7 separate regions of the Homo sapiens genome follow, and all the other regions are linked to region 3. Evidence: promoter capture Hi-C in 16 types of primary human blood cells and fetal thymus (Javierre and others, 2016). All regions are on one chromosome and are shown on one strand. Each heading gives the region's core, a stretch centred on a gene start or on the middle of the fragment in contact. The rest is flanking DNA. Distances are from core to core; before and after follow the strand shown. Region 1 has its middle 9.6 kb from the start of LMTK2. Region 2 has its middle 30 kb from the start of OCM2. Region 3 holds the start of TMEM130 (transmembrane protein 130). Region 4 overlaps LMTK2 (lemur tyrosine kinase 2). Region 5 overlaps LMTK2 (lemur tyrosine kinase 2). Region 6 overlaps LMTK2 (lemur tyrosine kinase 2). Region 7 overlaps LMTK2 (lemur tyrosine kinase 2).

Region 1 (2,700 bases), core at 149-2,648, 770 kb before region 3:
TATTGTCTGATATTAGTATAGCCACTCAACCTCTCTTTTAGATGCTTTTTTCCTGGTTTTCTTTTATCTCACTTTAAATTTATTTTGCTTTGAATCTAAAATGTGTCTCTAGTAGACAGCATATAGTTGAATGATGTTTTCCTATTCATTCTGCCAATCTCTACCTTTTGATTAGAGTGATAAGTCCATTTCCATCTAATGTAATTATCAATAAGATACGATGAAGATGATGATGATAATTTACTAATTTTTTTAAAGTAAGGGTTTCACTCTGTCACTCAGGCTGGAGTGCAGTGGTGCAATTATAGCTCATTGCAGCCTCAAACTCCTGGACTCAAACAATCCTTTCACCTCAGTCTCCTGAGAAGCTAGGATTACATTTGCATGCTACCACACCCAGCTAATTTAAACAATTTTTGTAGAGATGGAGCCTCACTATGTTGCCCAGGGTTGTCTCAAACTCTGGGCTTAAGTGATCCTCCTGCCTTGGCCTCCCAGATCCCTGGGAGTACAGGTGTGAGTTACTGTGCTGCTCATCAGCAAAATAGGATTATGTCTGTCATTTTGCTATGTATTTTCTATATGTCTTATGTGCTTTTTATTCCTCTATTCCTCCATTACTGCCCACTTTTGTCTAAAGTAGATATTTTCTAGTGTACAATTTTAATTCACTTGTTACTTGTTTTTAAATATATATTTCGAGTTTTCTTAGTGGTTGCCCTAGAAATTACAATTAACATAATACCCTAAAACAAGCTAGATACGATTAATAGCAGCTTAATTTCAATAGTGTTTAAAACGTTGCTCCAGTATAGCTCTCTTCCCACATCCATGTTTTGTGCTATTATTGTCATACAAATTATATCTTTATATAAGTCCCTCTGCCAGTTTTATAATTGTTGCTTTATGTAGTAGTCTTTTAAATCAGATAGGAGAAAAGAAAGTTATAAAGAAAAATACATTTATATTTATATTCTTATATTTAGTGATATAGTTTCCTTCTCCTGGTGTTTTTTATTTCTTTATGTGAATTCAAGTTTCTGAATAGTGACTTTATTTCTGTTTAAAGGACTCCCTTTAGTATCTCTTGTAGTAAACATTGTTAGCAACAATTTCACTCTGTTTTTGTGTATTTGGAAATGTCTTGATATTTATTTTATTTTTGAAGCTTTACTGGACATATAATTCTTGTTTGACAGTCTTTGTCTTTCAGCTCTTTAACATGTCAGCACTTTGAATTTGTTGTCCCACAACCTTCTGGCCTCCATGGTTTCTGATGAAAAGTCAGCTGTTAATCTCATTGTGGAACTTCTATATATAATGAGGTTCTTTTTCATGTTGCTTTCTAGATTCTCTCTTTGTCTTTGTCTTTGAACAGTTGGTTATGATGTGCCCAGATGTGGATTTCTTTAAGTTTATCCTACTTGGAGTTATTTCAGCTTCTTGGATGTGTAGCCTAACACTTATCATGACATCTGGGAGATTTTCAGCCATTATTTCTTCAAATGTACATATTTTTTCCCTTTCTCTCTATCCTCTCCTTCTGGGAATCCCCCACTTTATGTATTTTGGTATGCTCAATGGCATCCCACAGAGCTTTGAGGCTTTGTTATTTTTTTCTTTTAAAATAAGCTTTCGATAGTTTCAGATTTATAGAAAGGTGTAAAGCTAGTACAGAGAATTCCTATATATCCCACACCCAATTTTTCCTGTTATTACTTTACATTAATGTGGTATATTTGTTATCATTAATGAATTGCTATTGATATATTATTCCAACTAAAGCCCATATCTTACTCAGATTTCCTTAGTTTTCACCTAATGTCATTTTTCTGTTCCAAGATCTTATTTTGGATACCACATTATATTTAGTTATCATATCTCCTTAGACTCCTCTTGGCCATGACAATTTCTCAGACTTTCTTTGTTTTTCATGACCCTGACATTAAAAAAAATGTTTTTTAAATAACCAAATACTTGCAACAAATGACCTTGACATTTTTGAAGACTACTGGTCAGGTATTTTGTAGAATGTCCCTTAATTCGGATTTGTCTGATTGGACTAATGTTATACATTGAGGATGAAGACCACAGCTCATCACATCATATCAAAAATACATAGTATCAACATGGCTTAACAGTGTTGATGCAGACCTTGTCAGGTTTCTCCACACTTTGGTAAAACTACTCCCCCCACCCCCACACTATACTTTGTTCATTTTTATTCATTTGGTTTTCCTTCTACTCCTCAGACTGGATGATCTCAATTTACCTATTTTCAAGTTCATTGATGCTTTTTTCTGTCAGCTCAAATCTGCTATTGAGTCCTTCTAGTGAATTTTAAATGTCAGTTATTGTACTTCTCAACTCCAGAATTTTTATTGGGTTCTTTTTAAAGTAACTGCTGTCTCTTTGTCAATATTCTCTTTTTTTAAGTAATTGTGTGCACAGGTAATGAACTCCCTTTTTTGAAGTATAATTCAATAGCTTTAAACATATTTACAGATAAAATTTTAGAACATTTTCATCATCCCCCAAAGAAATTCCATACCCATTAGCAGTCATTCCTCATTTCTTCCCCACCCTGTCAGCCCCAGGCAATTACTAATCTATTCCCTTCCCTCTTCAGCCCCTGGCAAACACTAACTTACTTTCTGTCTGTATGGATTTGCCTATGCTAGACATTTCATAAAAATTGAA
Region 2 (2,870 bases), core at 367-2,866, 850 kb before region 3:
GCCAGGGCAGGGCCAGAGCCCCGGCTGGGAGTGGATCCTACACTTGCTTTTTTTTTTTTTTAATTATGGTAAAATATGCATAACATAAAATTTGCCATTTTAGCTATTTTTGAGGGTACAATTCAGTGGCATTTATTACATCAAAAATATTGTGCAACCGGGCTGGGCATGGTGGCTCACGCCTGTAACACCAGCACTTTAGGAGGCTGAGGCAGGCAGGAGGTCAGGAATTCAAGACTAGCCTGGCCAACGTGACAAAACCCCGTTTCTACTAAAAATACAAAAATTAGCTGGGTGTGGTGGTGTGCACCTATAATCCCAGCTACTCAGGGGGCAGAGGCAGGAGAATTGCTTGAACCTGGGAGGCGGAGGTTGTGGTGAGCCGAGGTTGCGCCACCATACTCCAGTTTGGGCAACAGAGCGAGACTCTGTCTCAAAAAAAAGAGAGACAGAGAGAGAAATAAACAAAATATTATGCAACTGTCACCACCATCCATCTCCAGAACTTTTCCATCTTCCCAAACTGAAACTGTCCCCATTAACCCTCACTCTCCATCCCCCTTATCCCCAGGCTCTGATAACCAACATTTTACTTTTTTTCTGTCTCTATCAGTTTGACTATTCTAGGTACATTATATAAGTGGAATCATGCTGTATTTGCCATTTTTTTTTTTTTGGAGTTTTGCTCTTGTTGCCCAAGCTAGAGTGCAGTGGTGCAATCTCGGCTCACTGCAACCTCTGCCTCCTAGGTTCAAGCGATTCTCCTGCCTCAGCCTCCTGAGTAGCTGGGATTACAGGCGCGCACCACCACGCCCGGCTAATTTTTTTGTATTTTTAGTAGAAACGGGGTTTTGCCATGTTAGCCAGGCTGGTCTTGAACTCCTGACCTCAGGTGATCCACCCACCTCAGCCTCCCAAAGTGCATGAGCCACCTCGCCCGGCCTTTTTGTTGTTTTTTTTTGAGACGAGTCTCACTCTGTCATCCAGGCTGGAGTGCAGTGGCACAATCTTGGGTCACTGCAACCTCTGCCTCCTGGGTTCAAGTGATTCTTGTGCTTCAGCCTCCCAAGTAGCTGAGATTACAGGCGTGCGCCGCCATGCCAAGCTAATTTTTTGTATTTTATTAGAGACAGGATTTCACCATGTTGGCCAGGCTGGTCTCAAACTTCTGACCTCAAGTGATCCACTTTCCTCCGCCTCCCAAAGTGCTGGGATTACAGGTGTGAGCCACTGTACCCGGCCATATTTGCCTCTTTGTGACTGACTTATTTCCTCTCCTCCGCTCCCTCCCTTCCTTCCCTTCTTTCTTCTTCTTCTTCTTTTTTTTTTTTTTTTTGAGACAGGGTTTGGCTTTGTCCCACAGGCTGGAGTGCAGTGGCATGATCTCTGCTCACTGCAACCTCTGCCTCCCTGGCTCAAGCAGTCCTCCCACCTCTGCCTCTCTAGAAGCTGGGACTACAGGAATACACCACCACACTTGGCTTTTAAAATTTTTTTGTAGAGATGAGGTCTCACTTTATTGCTCAGGCTGGTCTTGAACTCTTGGGCTCAAGTGATCCTCCTACCTCAGCCTCCCAAAGTGCTGGGATTACAGGTGTGAGCCACAGCGCCCAGCTGTGACTGTCTGATTTCACTGAGCATAATGTCCTCAAGGTTCCTCCATGCAGTAGCAGGTGTCAGCATTTATTTCCTTTTCAGGGCTACATAATATTTCATTGTATGGACAGACACATTTTGTTCATTCATTGGTAGGTGGACTCCTGGGTTGCTTCTACCTCTTGGCTATTGTGAATAATGCTGCAATGAACATGGGTGTACAAATATCTGTTGAGGACGGGTGCAGTGGCTCAGGCCTGTCATCCCAGCACTTTGGGAGGCTGAGGTGGGAGGATTGCTGGAAGCCAGGAGTTTGAGACCAGCCTGGCCAACATAGCAAGACCCCATCTCTACAAAAAATAAAAAAGTTAGCTGGGCATGGTGGGGAATGCCTGTAGTCCCAGCTACTTGAGCGGCTGAGGCAAGAGGATTGCTTTAGCCTGGAGGTTGAGGCCGCAGTGACCTATGATCTTGCCACTGCACTCCAGCCTGGGGGACAGAGTCAGACCCCATCTCAAAAAAAAAAAAAAAAGAGGTTAAAAAATCCCACAAATATCAGCTGGAGTCCCTGCTTTCAATTCTTTGGAGCATCTACCCAGAAGTGGAATTGCTGGATCTACATTTTTTTTTTTTTTTGAGACAGAGTCTTGCTCTGTCACCCAGGCTGGAATGCAATGGCGCGATCTCAGCTCACTGCAACCTCCGTCTCCCAGGTTCAAACAATTCTTATGCCTCAGCCTCCCGAGTAGCTGGGGCTACAGGCGCCCACCACCATGCTTGGCTCATTTTTCTATTTTTAGTAGAGACAGGGTTTCACCATATTGGCCAGGCTGGTCTCGAACTCCTCACCTCAAGTGATCCACCTGGTTCGGCCTCCCCAAGTGCTGGGATTACAGGCGTGAGCCACTGCGCCTGGCCTACCTTTGTTTTTGAAGTGGGTTGGGTGGGCCTGGGTTTCTCAAATCCCAGTATAGCACTGCATAGGATATATCACGGTCCTCAGTTCTCAGAACCTGGGTCTCCTCAGCTGTGAAAAGGGATAGTGATAATAGTGGCAATCACAGGGTTGCTGTGAGAGATACTTAAGATTTTGTAGAAACACCCACGCAGGCTGGGCGTGGTGGCTCACATCTGTAATCCCAGCACTTTGGGAGGCCGAGGTGGGAGGATCACTTGAGCACAGGAGTTCAAGACCAGCCAGGGCAACACAGTGAGATCTCCTCACTACAAAAAATATATATAAATTGGGTGGGCGTGGTGGTGTGCACCTGTAG
Region 3 (2,700 bases), core at 68-2,567:
AGGGTGCAATTGGCTAGAATGGGAACCACACATGATTTCCAAATAATTAATTCACTTTTGTTATTATTTTCTTTTTCTTTTGCAATTTAGGACACATTGAAAATCTCTGACACAAATCAACCTGATGGACAAGAGACCCCTTTCCTGTATTTCCAGGAGGAAATAGGTAATCTTGTCCAAGTGCAATTCCCATAAAATTCGTCTAATTCATCCCTGAGTTGCAGGTTTTCTTTGACCTCATGGTTTTTCTTTCACAAATTTTCATTAGATCCCTTGCTCTCTCTCTCCACCGCTCTTTTATGAGGGGGGAGGGGGTGAAAAGTGGTGGATAGTATTCAACCTTCTTAGCTGCCCACGTCCCATCTGTCCCTCGAATAGTCTTAAATCTGGGTCCTTTTATGGTTCCCAAAATGTGGCAGAGAGGTGGGTGCTGGCTTTCTGGCGGTGGGGAAGTGGGGGCAGTAGACACACAACCCTGCTTCCCCCACTCCCCCACCCACACACACACCCCAGGAACCTGTCAGCTCCGGGTCCATTTTGGAAATCACCACCAGAGAGGAAATGGCAGCCTGGCCTCCTGGGCTCTAAATTCGCATCTCCCCAAAGCCAGCACCAACACGGTGGGAAACCCCTCTAGATGAGGCGACATTTTAAGGCAAAAACGTTGCCCATCCCGTGCTCCCTGGGGGACTGGGGAATTGTGGCGCGATGACGGACCCTGGCGCATCCCCGCCTCCCTGCCTCGTCCTCCCCTCCCTTAGCGGGTGCATGGTCCCCAGGCATCGACGGATGCGCCGGCCACCCCCGCGCGGTTTCCAGGGCAGGGCCAGCCTGGGGGGGTGGAAGCAGGAATCCAGGGGGTGCGGGGAGCCCCCTCCAGTGCCCAGGCGACTTTGGGGAACAAGGATGAAAGGAGAGGGGAAAGGGCGCTGCAGTGGCCTCAGCCGAGGAGGGAGATGCGCGCAGGGCGCACGGTGCCACCTCCGCAATCCCTGCTCCCGGGCCCACTCGCCCGCTGAGACGGTTCCAGGCCCCGGGCGGGCTGCGGCTGCAGGGAGGCCGGATTGCCCAGCGCCTTACCTGCGGCCACCCCTGCCGGGGCCCAGGGCAGGAGGCAGGCAAGCCAGAGGATGCGGCCGAGGCGCGACCACACTGCCTGGGCCATTGCGGGGCCCGGAGCGGGAGAAGCGTGGGGCGGACGCGGAGGGAATGCAGCTGGAGCTCGAGAACTGCGGCGGTCGCTCCTCCGGGCGCGCAGCGCGGGCGGTGCGGGGAGGTGCGGGCGCCGTGCTCGCTCGTCCTCGCCGGGGGACGCTCTGTCGCTGCGCGCCGCCGCCGCCGCCCACAGCCCGCTGCGCGACCCCGGCCCACGTCAGCCGCGCCGCGCGCCCTCCTCCTCCTCCCGCCGCCCCTTGCTCCCGCGTCCCTCTCCACGGCCGCGTCCTCCCTCTCCGGGTCTCTTCCCACGGCCGCGCCCCCTGCCCTCCTGGAGTCCACGATCGCCCCTCCCAGCTTGCTTCCCCTCTAGGGGTTCCAGAGCTCCCTTCCTGCGCCCTGGCTCCTCCCCGCATCCCTCCCCACCCCAAATCCACCCCCGGCCGCATCCTTCCCCTCCACTACCCGAAACCACGCCCCCCGCACCCGCATTTTTCCCTTCCCCCGAGCCCCTCCCCGCCCTGGATCCGATGCCGCCGGCTCTGACTCAGCGTCCCCAGGGGCGTGCGCTGCGCTGCAAGCCGCCTGCAGGTCCCTTGGGGCTCTCCTCCAGGTGCCTTCTCTCTGCACGCTCGTGGCTCCGAGATGCTACTCCTCATTCAAGAACTGTTGAGAGCTTAAGGTGCGCCAGGCGTTGGGCGAAAGGCCTCGAAATTCCTCTTGCTGCTGCTGCTGCTGCTGCTTCCTCTTTTCTTTTTTTTTTTTTTTTAATCTTGAGACAGAGTCTCGCTCTGTCCCAGAATGGCGCGATCTCGGCTCACTGCAACCTCCGCCTCCCGGGTTCAAGCGATTCTCCTGCCTCAGCCTCCCTAGTAAGATGGGATTACAGGTGCCCGCCACCAGGCCTGGCTAATTTTTGTATTTTTAGTAGAGACGGGGTTTCACCATGTTGGCCAGGTTGGTCTCAAACTCCTGGCCTCAAGTGATCCTCTCGCCTCAGCCTCCCAAAATGTTGGGATTACAGGTGTAAGCCACTGTGCCCAGCCTCTTGCCCCTTCTTGATAGAGGGGCCTGAGCACCCGGCCCCTGCCGTGGGCTTGATGTCATCCCCCGGTTTACCCTCTCACAGCTGCTGTTAAGATGGGGCTCCTGCTCGTATCTGGGCCCAGGGCAACTTCTTTGTCACTGAGGGCCTTGTGGGAGTCAGGCTACTGCGGTGAGGGGTGACCAGCCTACACAGTTACTGCCATTTGCCTTAGAGGAGCAGGGCTGGGCTCTCCTAGAAGCTGGAGGGGCCTGGCTGGCCTTAAACGCTGGAAGCCCGGTGGGTTCTGGTCCCAGCTATGCTTCCGCTTTGCTACGGCTACCTGGGCGAGGGATCCTCCCACACAGTGAGGGCCTTTGACCTCCTCTCTGGCCCGTGGAGCACGGATGGACCATCACTGCACCACCCAGTGCATTGACATCAAGGCGTCTAAAGCAGGGGTCTCCAAGCCCCTGGCCGCCAGTACCAGTCCATAGCCTGTTAGGAACTGGCTGCACAGC
Region 4 (2,700 bases), core at 192-2,691, 750 kb before region 3:
TTTAATATTTTAAAAGGCTTGAGTTACCATCAGGTCAAATTAGGTGTGCAGGACCTTGTGCTATGGCTAAAGTAGCCCCTGTCTCCCTGCATCTGGTGAAGGGAGACGGTCGCATCGGGGTGTCTGCTGCAGCGCATCTGTTGTTGTTCCTGCCTCCACCCTCCACAGCACTTTTTTCAGAGCTAACTTGATCTGCCTATCGCTTGCAAAATATTCCATGCAAATTCCCATCTTCTGGCTCTCCATATATTCTCCCTGTTTGCAATTGCCTCTTTTCCTGCTTCTGTAAGTGCTGCCATCTTTTTATTTTTTTTAAAACCTCTTTGCGGACCCACCTTCCCTACTGAGTTATTGATCCTGGCCCAGCCCTTAGAGATTCCTTCCCTTGGTGAACTTGAGAGTGTATACCTGTGGAGCAAGATGTTTCATGGGGTGCCAGACGAAAACATTGGAACTGATGTTTATTCTCATTTCATCCTCTTAAAAGGTCAACTTATGTGATGTTTTAAGGTATAGAATGTGTGGTACACTAACACATTTTTTGATTTATAAATGACATGGGACGGAAAGAACATAAAATGTACTGCCTGGGTACAGTGGCTCATGCCTGTAATCCCAGCACGGTGGGAGGTCGAGGTGGGTGGATCACGTGAGGTCAGGAGTTCAAGACCAGCCTGGACAACACGGAGAAACCCCGTCTATACTAAAAAACACAAAAATTAGCTGGGTATGGTGGCACACTCCTAAAGTCTCAGCTACTCAGGAGGCTGAGGCAGGAGAGTCGCTTGAACCCAGGAGGCAGAGGTTGCAGTGAGCCGAGATCATGCCATTGCACACCAGCCTGGGCGACAGAGCGAGACTCAAAGAAAGAGAAAAAGAAAGAAGAAAGAAAGAGAAGAAAAAAAGAAAAGAAGGAAGGGAGGGCGGGAGAGAGGAGAGAGAAATTACTGCTGGCTGAAATCAAGAAAGGTTTGGTTTTGGGCCGGGTGCTGTGGCTCACACCTGTAATCTCAGCACTTTGGGAGGCCGAGGCGGGCGGGTCACGAGGTCAAGAGATTGAGACCATCCTGGCCAACATGGTGAAACCCCGTCTCTACTAAAAAGTCAGCTGAGTGTGGTGGCGGGCACTTATAGTCCCAGCTACTCAGGAGGCTGAGGTTGAACCCGGGAGGCGGAGGTTGCAGTGAGCTGAGATCGCACCACTGTGCCCAGGCCTAGTGACAGAGCAAGACTCCATCTCAAAAAAAGCAAAAAAAGAAAGGTTTGGTTTCATCATACCAGTCTACTACTTGCACTTAATAAATACCAAATACCACTTTATATCTTCATATCATTGGTTTTTTGTTTGTTTGTTTAAGAGACAAAGTCTTGCTCTGTTGCCCAGGCTGGAGTGCAGTGAACTGTCATGGTTTACTGCATCCCTGAACTCCTAGGCTCAAGCAGTCCTCCCATGTCAGCTCCTGAGTAGCTGGGACTATAGGCGCATGTAACCATGCTTGGCCAATTTTTACTTTTTGTAGAGATGGTCTACAAAAGTAAAGTTGCCATGTTGCCCAGGCTGGTCTCAAACTCCTGGCCTCAAGCAGTCCTCTGGCTTCGGCCTCCCACGGTGTTGGGATTATAGGTGTGAGCCACAGTGTCCGGCCTACATCATTGTTTAAGTCCTGTCTCTTTACCTAGTTTGCAAGGACCGTGTCTTATATCCTTGGGATAGCACATTTTTGGGATTGGTGTTTGGATGGTATGTCACAGGTTGTAGATGCTCTGTCAGCATTTGTAACTGAGGATGATGAAGATGATACTAGAGAACTAAGTTCTCCAAACCAGTACCTCAGTGTGTGTCTGTGTGTGTGTGTGTGCATGTGCGTGTGTTTGTGCGTGTGTGTGTGTGTTTGTGTCCGCGTGTGTGTGTGTGAAGGAGAGGGTATGAGCTGAAGCCTCTCATTCTCTTGCGGACTTGACTTCCCATGCAGCCACAGACCTTCACCTGGGATGAGGCCATTTATAGTTTTTTTTTTATTAAAACCTTTTTCTTTCACAACAATTTTAGATTTACAGAAACATTGCAAAGATAGTACAGAGTGTTCCTGTGTATCTTTTACCCAGTCCCTGTTGTTAACATCCTATATTAATGTAGTACATTTGTCACAACTAAGGAACAAGTATTAATATATTGCTATTAAATAAGTCCACAGCTTGTTCAGTTTCTTTAATATTTCTCTAGTGTCTTTTTTTCTCTTCCAGGAAACCACATTACATTTAGTAGTTATGCCCCTTGGGCTCCCCCAGTCCATTCCTTGTTTAGAGTGACCTGGACAGCTTTGAGGAGTACTGACTGGTCAGATATTTTGTAGAATGTCCCTCAACTGGGATTTGTCTGATGTTTTTCTCACGATTAGACTGGGGGTGTGGGTTTCTGGGAGGAAGACCACAGAGTTAAAGTGCCATTCTCATCACATCACATCAAGGGTGTGTGCACACAACATCACACAGCATGACTTGTCACTTGATCACCTGGCTGAGTAGTGTTTGTCAGCTTTCACCCTGTAAAGTTACTCTGTCCTCCCCTCCCCATGGTGTACGAGTGCAGGGTCAACACTTAATGAGTGGCAAGCTGTGCTCCACCTCTTTGCAAGGAAGTGTCTGTAGACATTCTTTGGAGTTCTGTTGAAGAGACTCGCGTATTCTCTTCTTTTCTTT
Region 5 (2,828 bases), core at 101-2,600, 740 kb before region 3:
AATTATTCTTAGCTTTCAGGCCATACCAAAACAAAAACTGTGGGCAGGATTTCACCCAGTGGCCACAGTTTCCTGATCCCTATTACCCGAAGAGAGCAGCTGCTTAGACCACAGGGGTACCAAAGTTCAATGTTACAAAACTGTGATACATTGTTTTCTAAGGTAGTTGTGACACCAGCAGTGAATAAGCAGCTCTACTTCCTGAACCGAGGTCTTTACATTAGCAGTTCACTTTAAAAGAAACCAGGGCTCTTTGGGGAAATGATTGATAGGAGGTTTGAAACAGAAACTATAAAAGATGAGCCTGGAACAACCCAGGGAACAAGAACTCCACCCAGGCCTGCCGGGACCCTGTGGGAGGGCTTGGGAGCAAACCGCTTTAGAGGCCCTGCTTGCCAAAGACAGGACAATGGGAGTGTCAATCAGAACAACCACAACGGATGGAAGCCTGTGGGTGCTTTAAATCCATTAGCTCATGATGATACCACAAAACAGTGACAGCAGCTCTCTGAACTGGTCACTGCCAGAGGATGCTAGTGAACCAACTTTTTTTTTTTTGAGACGGAGTCTCACTCTGTCGCCCAGGCTGGAGTGCAGTGGCGCAATTTTGGCTCACTGCAACCTCTGCCTCCTGGGTTCAAGCAATTCCCCTGCCTCAGCCTCCCGAGTAGCTGGGACCACAGGCGCGCGGCACCACGCCTGGCTAATTTTTTGTATTTTAGTAGAGACGGGATTTCACCATGTTGGTCAGGATGGTCTCAATCTCCTGACCTTGCGGTCCCCCGACCTTGGCCTCCCAAAGTGCTGAGATTACAGGCGTGAGCCACCGCACCCAACCACCAACTCATTTTTTAAAAACTGGCAAAGAGAAAGATTGAAGTATCTAGTCTGCCTTTTCCTTATGACTTGAACCACTGGGTAACCAAATAGTAAATGTGAGGAAATTTCTCTTTATAAAAGCATATCCACTAGTGACTGAACAAGGAATGACAACATTAGGATATCCAGCATTTTGTAATCCCTAATGGATCTAAATATTGATCATCATTTCTTTTTATCTGTGGCCTTTAATTTTTTTTTTAATTGAATCCCAAAATGGCTTCACAGACAACTCTTTAGTTAATTACATATGGGTCCAGTTTCATCTGAGGTTCTAGAGATCGTGAATCAGATAATTGGGCTGGAGTTATAATGGTTGAATTAATAGGTGGTATTCCTGGCTTACCTTGAGTCATTACTGAGAAATTGCATTCTCCAAATTACCTGTCTCTAAAACAGATAATATGTACCTACCTCTTAGAGTTTCTCAAGTTTTCTGCTTATTGAATCAAGTTCTAGGTAGCTATTAAAATGCTTTGAAAACTATTAAATGAAAACTCACAGAATGTGCTGTAGACATGCCGGGTGTTTTTTAATCAGTGTCTTGGGGAAAGCATACGTATTCCGCCAGACCTCATGTGGTGCTTGCTCTCAATTTGTGATGGGAAAAGCTGCCTAAATGTATGGTGATGCCTGTTCTTGATGTTGTTTGGTAGATGACTGGCTCGACGTATGCCCTTCTCAGTGCTGTAGGCTGCATGTTAAAGCTGCCTTTCTTTATCAGGTTCTAACAGCTGCAGTCAGGAACTGTGTCAGGGACTGGTTTCTAGTTTGACCACGGCGGTATAGGGATTTTATTTGTGGTTCCTCAAGTCTAGAATTTACTTCCTCTCTGTGGTTTCTGCAAACCCATCTCACCTTCCAGCCTATGTTTGATTTCCTCATTTTATGGAAGTTTTTTTTTTTCATTGCTAAATAGAGTTTTTTTTTATAGCACAGTGCTTTTGGATTCATCAAAAGAAAAATACTTTAAAGTTTTAAAAAGGGGTAACTAAAAATGTCTACTTGAAGCTACCTAGTCAATTTCTGAGGCAGTAGTTTTAATGGGACTGTTAGATACTGAGGTTGAGTAAGTGTGGTTCACACTGAGGAAATCTAAGGGAGAGTAGGTGCCCTGCAGACCCTAGCAGAAGTAAGTGTAGCAGAGAGCTAGGGCAAAGCGTGGCATAGTTCATTGGTCTTAACCTGGTTATACTCTTCATACCTATCTAGTGACTCACAGAGGACACTTTCATGAATCAGATAATTAGGCTGGCATTCATACAGTCCTTATCCAGTTCTGTAATAAATAAGTAGTTTGTGATGCTTAAAAAAACAAAACAAAAACTCTGGGTGCAAGAGAGGAAAAAGTAAGTCAAGATCAGCTATGTGGAGTTTGAGGAAGTATAAACTACCCTAATTAATGACAGACTTGGGTTCAAAGGACAGTGGGCTGTTTTTAAGTGTTAAAGGTTAACCACATAGAGGCAGAGCAGTGGGGTTTCAAGGAAAGCGAGGGAGCTTGCACCCAGCACACCTAAACTCAGTCTGGCCTGCCACTGTCCCACCTGGGTTCATGGGCATATCAGTTTCTTCATCTGTGACGTGGAGCTGGTCGTATTACCTCAGAGGTATTGTGACAGCCAAATGAAATAATGCTGTATTTTATCAAATGTCAGATGAGGTTGATGATAAGTCACACCCTTAGTTTTGTACCATTAAAAAGAAGAAATGCTGCCAGTTAAGCTAACTTGAAGTGTGAGATGCACCTGAAATTCAGAGATGCAGTGGACAAACTGTGTGTTATTTTTTCTTTTTATTCTCCCTTACAATCCAAATGCGTCTTTAAAAACAATCAATAAAAAACAGTGTACGTGAAAGCGCTTTGCTTTCCTCAGGAGTCAAATTTAATTTTTATTATGTGCATCGGGAGTGAAGCACAGTTCTTCAGAAATAATTCCAGCAGTCTG
Region 6 (2,879 bases), core at 259-2,758, 720 kb before region 3:
TAAACTCTAGATACACTCCAGATCTTGATTGAATTTTAAAATAATTTATGTAAGCCATACCATCGAAAAAAGAGTACATACCATATGATTCTGGTTGCATAACATTTTAGAAAATGCAAATTATAGTGCAGACAGCACGTGAATGGTTGTGTAGAGATGGGGGCAGGTGGAAGGGATTACTGAGGGTATCAGAAGACTTGGGGGTAATGGAGATGTTCCGTATTTTATTTAGGTAATGGTTTCACAGGTGCTTACAAATATTAAAGTGTATCAAAGTGTATATTTTAAATATGTGGACTTTATTGTATATTGATTATACTTCAGTAAAACTTTTTAAAAATTAAGGAGAGTAGTTTAAGAGTGCTAATCATATGTCTAGGTGAGCTGTTCAAGAGAGATGAAAATGAAGACTAAGTAAAGGCCATTGGCCTGGTGATTGGTGGTTACATGAGAGTAGCTGGATCGGAAAAAAAACAATGCGCAAGGTATTAAAGAATTGGTAGGAAACTCATTAAAAAATATTGTCAGTTTTAAAGCCTAAAACTGTTTTGGCATGATTCGTTTAAAAGAGGTGTTTTATGTATTTATTCCTACCTTTATTTGCACAAGCCTTTATGTTAGTGTTCATACTTTATAGGTTATATATTTAATATTTAGATACTTATATTTCATTTTTAATGTTTTTTTCTCTACAGAGGGATTGAAGTCTCAAGTTGCCCGCCACAGTCTAAACTACATACAGGAAATTGGAAATGGCTGGTTTGGAAAGGTAAGATGCTCTTCACTTGCATTTGTTTTCCTCTGAATGATACTGTGTTCAGTGCAGGGCTGATGAAGAATTGTGTTGTGTGGAGTTCCACGTGCCCTGTGGGCCCTGCGTTACTAATTGAGTTTCCCCATTCCCCCTGTGGCAGCGTGGGGGCGTGAGCTTCAGCCTTGCTGTGTGTCGAGCCTTTTCCAGAAAGGATGTCTTACGGCATACAGGCTGTTATAACAAAATATCATAAACTGGGTGGCTTATAAACAACAGAAATTTATTTCTCACAATCCTGGAGGCTGGGAAGTCCAAGATCAAGGTGCTGGCTGAATCCGGATCAGGTGAAGGTGGCACTTTCCTGCTGCGTCCTCCCGTGGTTGAAGGAGCAGGGCAGCTCTCTGGAACCTCTTTTGGAGGGATGCAAATCCCTTTCCCTCCCAGAGGCCTTCCTCCTCTCCATCGCATTGGTCATTAGGTTTCAGTTTACGGATTTGGGCAGGACAAAGGACACAGACATTTCGATCATAACAAAGGCCTTTAAAAAAAAAGTATCTGAGACTTTTCTAATTGTTGACATAAGAAAGTAAGAAGGGAAAAGAGACCTGGAATCTTAGCAGCTTCAGCTTTGTATCCTTCTCAGGTTAGATTGTTTTTTTAATCCCTTCCCCTTATAGCACTTAAGCCACTTTAGAACTGTAAATACAGTCTTACAATGAAGACCACCATGAACAACTAGTCTTCTCTCATAGCCCGTCAAGTGGCCTGTAGTAACAATGCTTTGTTGATTTTTTTATCGTAGATGGCTCAGAAGGAGTAATCTCCTACAGCCATTTCCACAGTACTGCAGTCGTGCTCTGCAAGAGGTTCCTAATGGAGTAGGGATTACATCGTAAGCAGGATGCTTACAACAGGAGGATGCACTTCCCAGTAGTCAGCCATCTGCTGCTGCTTCTCCTTCCCTTCAGCGTTGTCTGTATCTTTCATGTCCTCCCAACTGTTTGAGTTCTCTTCTGCACCATTCAGCAAAACCTGTTACGTAGCAGCCATTGTTCTTGGTGCTAGGGGCACGATGTGGAGGAAGATGGGTCAAACCTTGACCTGTGTGGAGTCCTGTATGAGAGATCAAACAAAACCCTGTCTTCACAAGGCTTAGATATCTAGTTGGGAGGGTCACACAGCAAACAGTCAATTGTGGGAGGTGGGCTCAGAGAGGTAGAGGGCAGGCAGGTGATCTGGGATATTGTGTGCCTAGAGACTGCCTTGCTCGGAATGAAACGGGGAAATACTCTGGTGCTTGAGAGATCATGATGTAATTGAGTTACCTTTTTAAAAGGATCACTCTGGAAGTCATAGAGGGGGAAGGTGAAAGCAGGGAGGAGATGGGCTAGAAGGCTCCTGCAGGCCCAGGCAGCTTGAACCTGGATGCTAGCGGTGGAGGTGGCAAGAAGTGGTAGGACCCAAGACAGATGTTCAGACGAGAGCATGCGGGTGTAGACTTAGAGGGGATAAGACATGGACTGTGGAGGAAGAGGCAGTCAGATTGACTGCTGAGGGCCTGATGAACTGGAAGAATGGAGTTGCTGTCAACTGAAATGCAACAGACACTGCAGGAGAGGCAGGAGGAAGTCGGGAGTTCATCTTTGCTATGTCAGGTGTGAGTTGGCCGTTAGACAACTCAGTGGGGGCACCAAGTAGCTGAACTGGAAATGCAGAGCAAGAGTGAAGGAGAGAGGGTCCCGGCTGGACATGTAAATCCGAGTGATCTCGTTTTATAGAGTGTATTCAAAGCTAGGAGACTAGGTGAAGTCATGGAGAATTTCAAAGTGGAAACCAGGGGGAGGCTCTGCAGCAGGGAGAGGCCAGTGCAGTCAGGGAGAAGCAGTGAGGAGGGAGAAGCCCAGGAGACAGGAGTCTTCTGAAAGTTCCAAGAAGATTAATTGCAGTAATGCTGCAGCTTACAAATGGAGTAAGATGAAGCCTGGGAGAATGAGGATTCAGCAGCATAAGTTCCTTGGCGTCCTTGAAAGAAGTTGTTCAGGGGGAAATGGTGATGGTACATCCTTGCGTGGAATGGATTCAAGAGAGAAAGAGGAGACGGTGCATTTAGACAACCCTCTTGAAG
Region 7 (2,700 bases), core at 130-2,629, 700 kb before region 3:
AAGTGTTTTTTTTTTTTTAAAGACTCAAAAAGTTACCAGTTTCTTAAGACCCAAAGCAGAATCCCTTATATGAAGCTTTATAAAGATTTCGTAATGGAGAAAGCCTACATTTAGCTTTTGATGTCTTTTATAACAGGCTGTTATCTAGCATAATTTATATTGTTAATATATCTTACAAAATGCAGATAATTACTAATACTGGTATAGGAATTCTTAAATTTTGGAGAAGGGGGTTTAATTTTAAAAGAGCATAATATTGGAATCAGCAATGTAAAATTATCAAAGACAACTAGAATCTGTATTTTTTAAATTGGCAAAGATATCAGAGTAAATAGTATTTTCCTGTGAGTTTCAAGTTAAAGTTTTACTTAATTTCAAAGTTTGTGGACTTTAGAGCAAGTAAAGATGATGAGTAAATCACATAGTTTGGGTTTTATTCAAGTTCTAAAACTCAAGTTAAAGAAAATCCTTGAGGCCGGGCACGGTGGCTCATGCCTGTAATCCCCGCACTTTGGGAGGCCGAGGCAGGCGGATCACAAGGTCAGGAGATCGAGACTGTCCTGGCTAACACGGTGAAACCCCGTCTCTACTAAAAATACAAAAAATTAGCCGGATGTGGTGACGGGTGCCTGTAGTCCCAGCTATTCGGGAGGCTGAGGCAGGAGAATGGCGTGAACCCGGGAGGTGGAGCTTGCAGTGAGCCGAGATCATGCCACTGCACTCTAGTCTGGGTGACAGAGCGAGATTCTGTCTCAAAAAACAAAAAACCCTTGAAACCATTGACAGCTGTTTCATTTTGTTGTAAAAAAAAAAAAAAAAAAGAAAAAGTAATCATATCTATATTAAATTTCTGTTTGGGGCAAAGTTTTGTGTTTTAAGATCTTTTTTGTCAGTAGCATATCATATAGTATATTTTTAAGTTGGAATTTAGAATATTTATTGGTTGACTTAAAGTAGGACTTCCTCTGTTGGTTGAAAATAGAACAACCTACATGTCCAATTAAAGTTCTTAGCTCCATTTGGAAACTAATCTAGTAAGGCACCCACAGTGAAGTTGTATTTCTACCTATTGTTTAAGAAGAGCCTTAACCTGGAGTCTGAGGAGCCTGTGTCTCTGAAGTCGTGCATGTGACTTTTGGAAAGCCATGTAAACAGCAGGCGCTGCCAGCTTGCTGCTGTGCCATCCCACTTGCCTTGCTGGCCTGGAGCCCAGGACTTCCTGTCCCCTGCCTGCCAGTCTCCTGAGCAGCCTGTCCGTGAGATGCCACCAGGTCGCTGTGATGAGCTGAGCCAGGGGGTTCTCATGGGCGGCCTGCCTCCTCGCAGTGACTCATGGAGCTGGAGACCTGGAGGGGGTAGCCTTGCGGAGTACCTGGGTGACCATTGTGTACAAAAGAACCTCTATAGGATTTGCCAGGTTGTAGCATTACAGTTACTTTCTGCTGTGCAACACTGGGGTTAGTGTGTAGCGAACTTCCACAGCCTGCAGAGTTCAATGACAAGGTGAGAGGTAGAGAAATGCATTTAAAATCCAGTGACAAGGTGAGAGACAGAGAAATACATTTAAAATCAAAGCAAAGTGCACACCTGTTGCTCACTACCGCCCCAGCAGGAGAGTGGAAACGCATGTTCTCATTTGGCAGGGTGTTTGCCGTGTTCCATGCATTTGCAGAACGTTCTGTGAGTAGTGATTTGATCGTCAGGGCCACCCCACGTGCCACGAGGCAGGTGCCATTATTCATCCCAGTTACAGAGGAGAATACTGAGGCTTGGGGTGCTGAGCGGTTGGTCTGTCTCAGCCACTCATTTGATCATTTGATGAGCAGTTTGTACCCACGTGCACATACCGTGTGTGGTCATTTCTGCAGGAGGAGGAAGAGTTACTTTGGGAAGAGTCCAGGTCGGTTTTTGGAAGGAGGTGGCGTTTTAGTGATCCTTGAAGAATGGGCATCAGTTGAAGGCTGGAGGACATTCAGAATTTCTGGAGAAGGGAGTAGCAAGATGATGTATATGGTAGGAGGAAGAGAAAGAAAGGGAGTTTAGGGAAATGTCAGATAGTCCAGTGTTACCAGAAAAGAAGACGCAGGAGAGAAGATAGTGGGAGATAAGAATAGAGACACAGCTTGAAACCAAATTACAGAGGGCCTGAGTGCCAAGATAAGGCCTTCAGGCTGTGTTCTGTAGGCAGTAGGATGGCATGCCCAGAGCTTTGTGTGTGCACGTGCGTGCATGTTTAATCACTATTGCACCTCAGCTTAGGCTGGTTTAGAAAGAGAAGGCACTACCTAAACGAAAACCAAACCGGAATTCATATATGGTGGGTGTCCATGAAGTTTCCTTATTTCCCTTTCTACATGGAAGACTTGCTGAAGGCAGGGATTGTATCTTCCTGACCTTTGTATCTCCCATGATGTATGTCACACAGAAATGAGGAAGGCTTCAAGGGAAAGGAACCAGTTTGACTGCAGCTACAACCCAAGAAGAGATGGAAAGACTGTAATCAGCCGAGTAGCTACACTGGGAAGGTGATTAAAGAGCTTTCATTTTAAAAGGCTCGAGGTCCAGAGGGTTTCATGGGTGTCCTCTGTCTGACCTTTAATGAACAGGTGGCTCCAGTGTATTTAAACTATTCCGGACCATAAAGAAGACGGAAATTTCTATAACTCATATCATGAATCCAACACAAGCTTAATAGCAAAA

Evidence for each region. Contacts are between HindIII fragments. The CHiCAGO score rates a contact against its expected background, and 5 or more counts as called.
Region 1: a contact is called between a fragment that was not itself captured here and the fragment with the promoter of TMEM130 in region 3, in 4 of 17 cell types (naive B cells, naive CD8 T cells, total CD8 T cells and 1 more). The highest score is 7.7, in naive B cells.
Region 2: a contact is called between a fragment that was not itself captured here and the fragment with the promoter of TMEM130 in region 3, in 4 of 17 cell types (naive B cells, total B cells, total CD8 T cells and 1 more). The highest score is 8.4, in naive B cells.
Region 4: a fragment that was not itself captured here is called in contact with the fragment with the promoter of TMEM130 in region 3 in 2 of 17 cell types (total CD4 T cells and naive CD8 T cells); the score reaches 7.0 in total CD4 T cells.
Region 5: a fragment that was not itself captured here is called in contact with the fragment with the promoter of TMEM130 in region 3 in 7 of 17 cell types (naive B cells, total B cells, total CD8 T cells and 4 more); the score reaches 8.5 in naive B cells.
Region 6: a fragment that was not itself captured here is called in contact with the fragment with the promoter of TMEM130 in region 3 in 1 of 17 cell types (total B cells); the score reaches 5.1 in total B cells.
Region 7: a fragment that was not itself captured here is called in contact with the fragment with the promoter of TMEM130 in region 3 in 7 of 17 cell types (naive B cells, total B cells, endothelial precursors and 4 more); the score reaches 9.5 in naive B cells.

The regions. Positions count from the first base shown.
Region 1 is chr7:98,095,937-98,098,636 of GRCh38, forward strand. No RefSeq gene overlaps it. Among named protein-coding and RNA genes, the nearest start is that of LMTK2, 9.6 kb to the right of the region's middle. The HindIII fragment of the contact is 464 bases long and covers 1,167-1,630 here.
Region 2 is chr7:98,018,490-98,021,359 of GRCh38, forward strand. No RefSeq gene overlaps it. Among named protein-coding and RNA genes, the nearest start is that of OCM2, 30 kb to the left of the region's middle. The HindIII fragment of the contact is 3,693 bases long and covers 1-2,870 here.
Region 3 is chr7:98,868,697-98,871,396 of GRCh38, forward strand. TMEM130 (transmembrane protein 130) reads right to left here and starts at 1,318. Exons shown (of 8, transcript NM_152913.3): 1 at 1,081-1,318. The coding sequence starts at 1,165. RefSeq lists enhancers at 216-802, 803-1,388. The HindIII fragment of the contact is 4,583 bases long and covers 1-2,700 here.
Region 4 is chr7:98,114,548-98,117,247 of GRCh38, forward strand. The region is part of intron 1 of LMTK2 (lemur tyrosine kinase 2); the gene reads left to right. Among named protein-coding and RNA genes, the nearest start is that of LMTK2, 9.0 kb to the left of the region's middle. The HindIII fragment of the contact is 7,004 bases long and covers 1-2,700 here.
Region 5 is chr7:98,131,711-98,134,538 of GRCh38, forward strand. All of the region lies in intron 1 of LMTK2 (lemur tyrosine kinase 2), which reads left to right. Among named protein-coding and RNA genes, the nearest start is that of LMTK2, 26 kb to the left of the region's middle. RefSeq lists enhancers at 681-1,181, 1,741-1,790. The HindIII fragment of the contact is 4,152 bases long and covers 1-2,828 here.
Region 6 is chr7:98,150,687-98,153,565 of GRCh38, forward strand. It overlaps LMTK2 (lemur tyrosine kinase 2), which reads left to right. Exons shown (of 14, transcript NM_014916.4): 4 at 696-769. Among named protein-coding and RNA genes, the nearest start is that of LMTK2, 45 kb to the left of the region's middle. The HindIII fragment of the contact is 4,832 bases long and covers 1-2,879 here.
Region 7 is chr7:98,173,302-98,176,001 of GRCh38, forward strand. The region is part of intron 7 of LMTK2 (lemur tyrosine kinase 2); the gene reads left to right. Among named protein-coding and RNA genes, the nearest start is that of BHLHA15, 37 kb to the right of the region's middle. The HindIII fragment of the contact is 2,612 bases long and covers 74-2,685 here.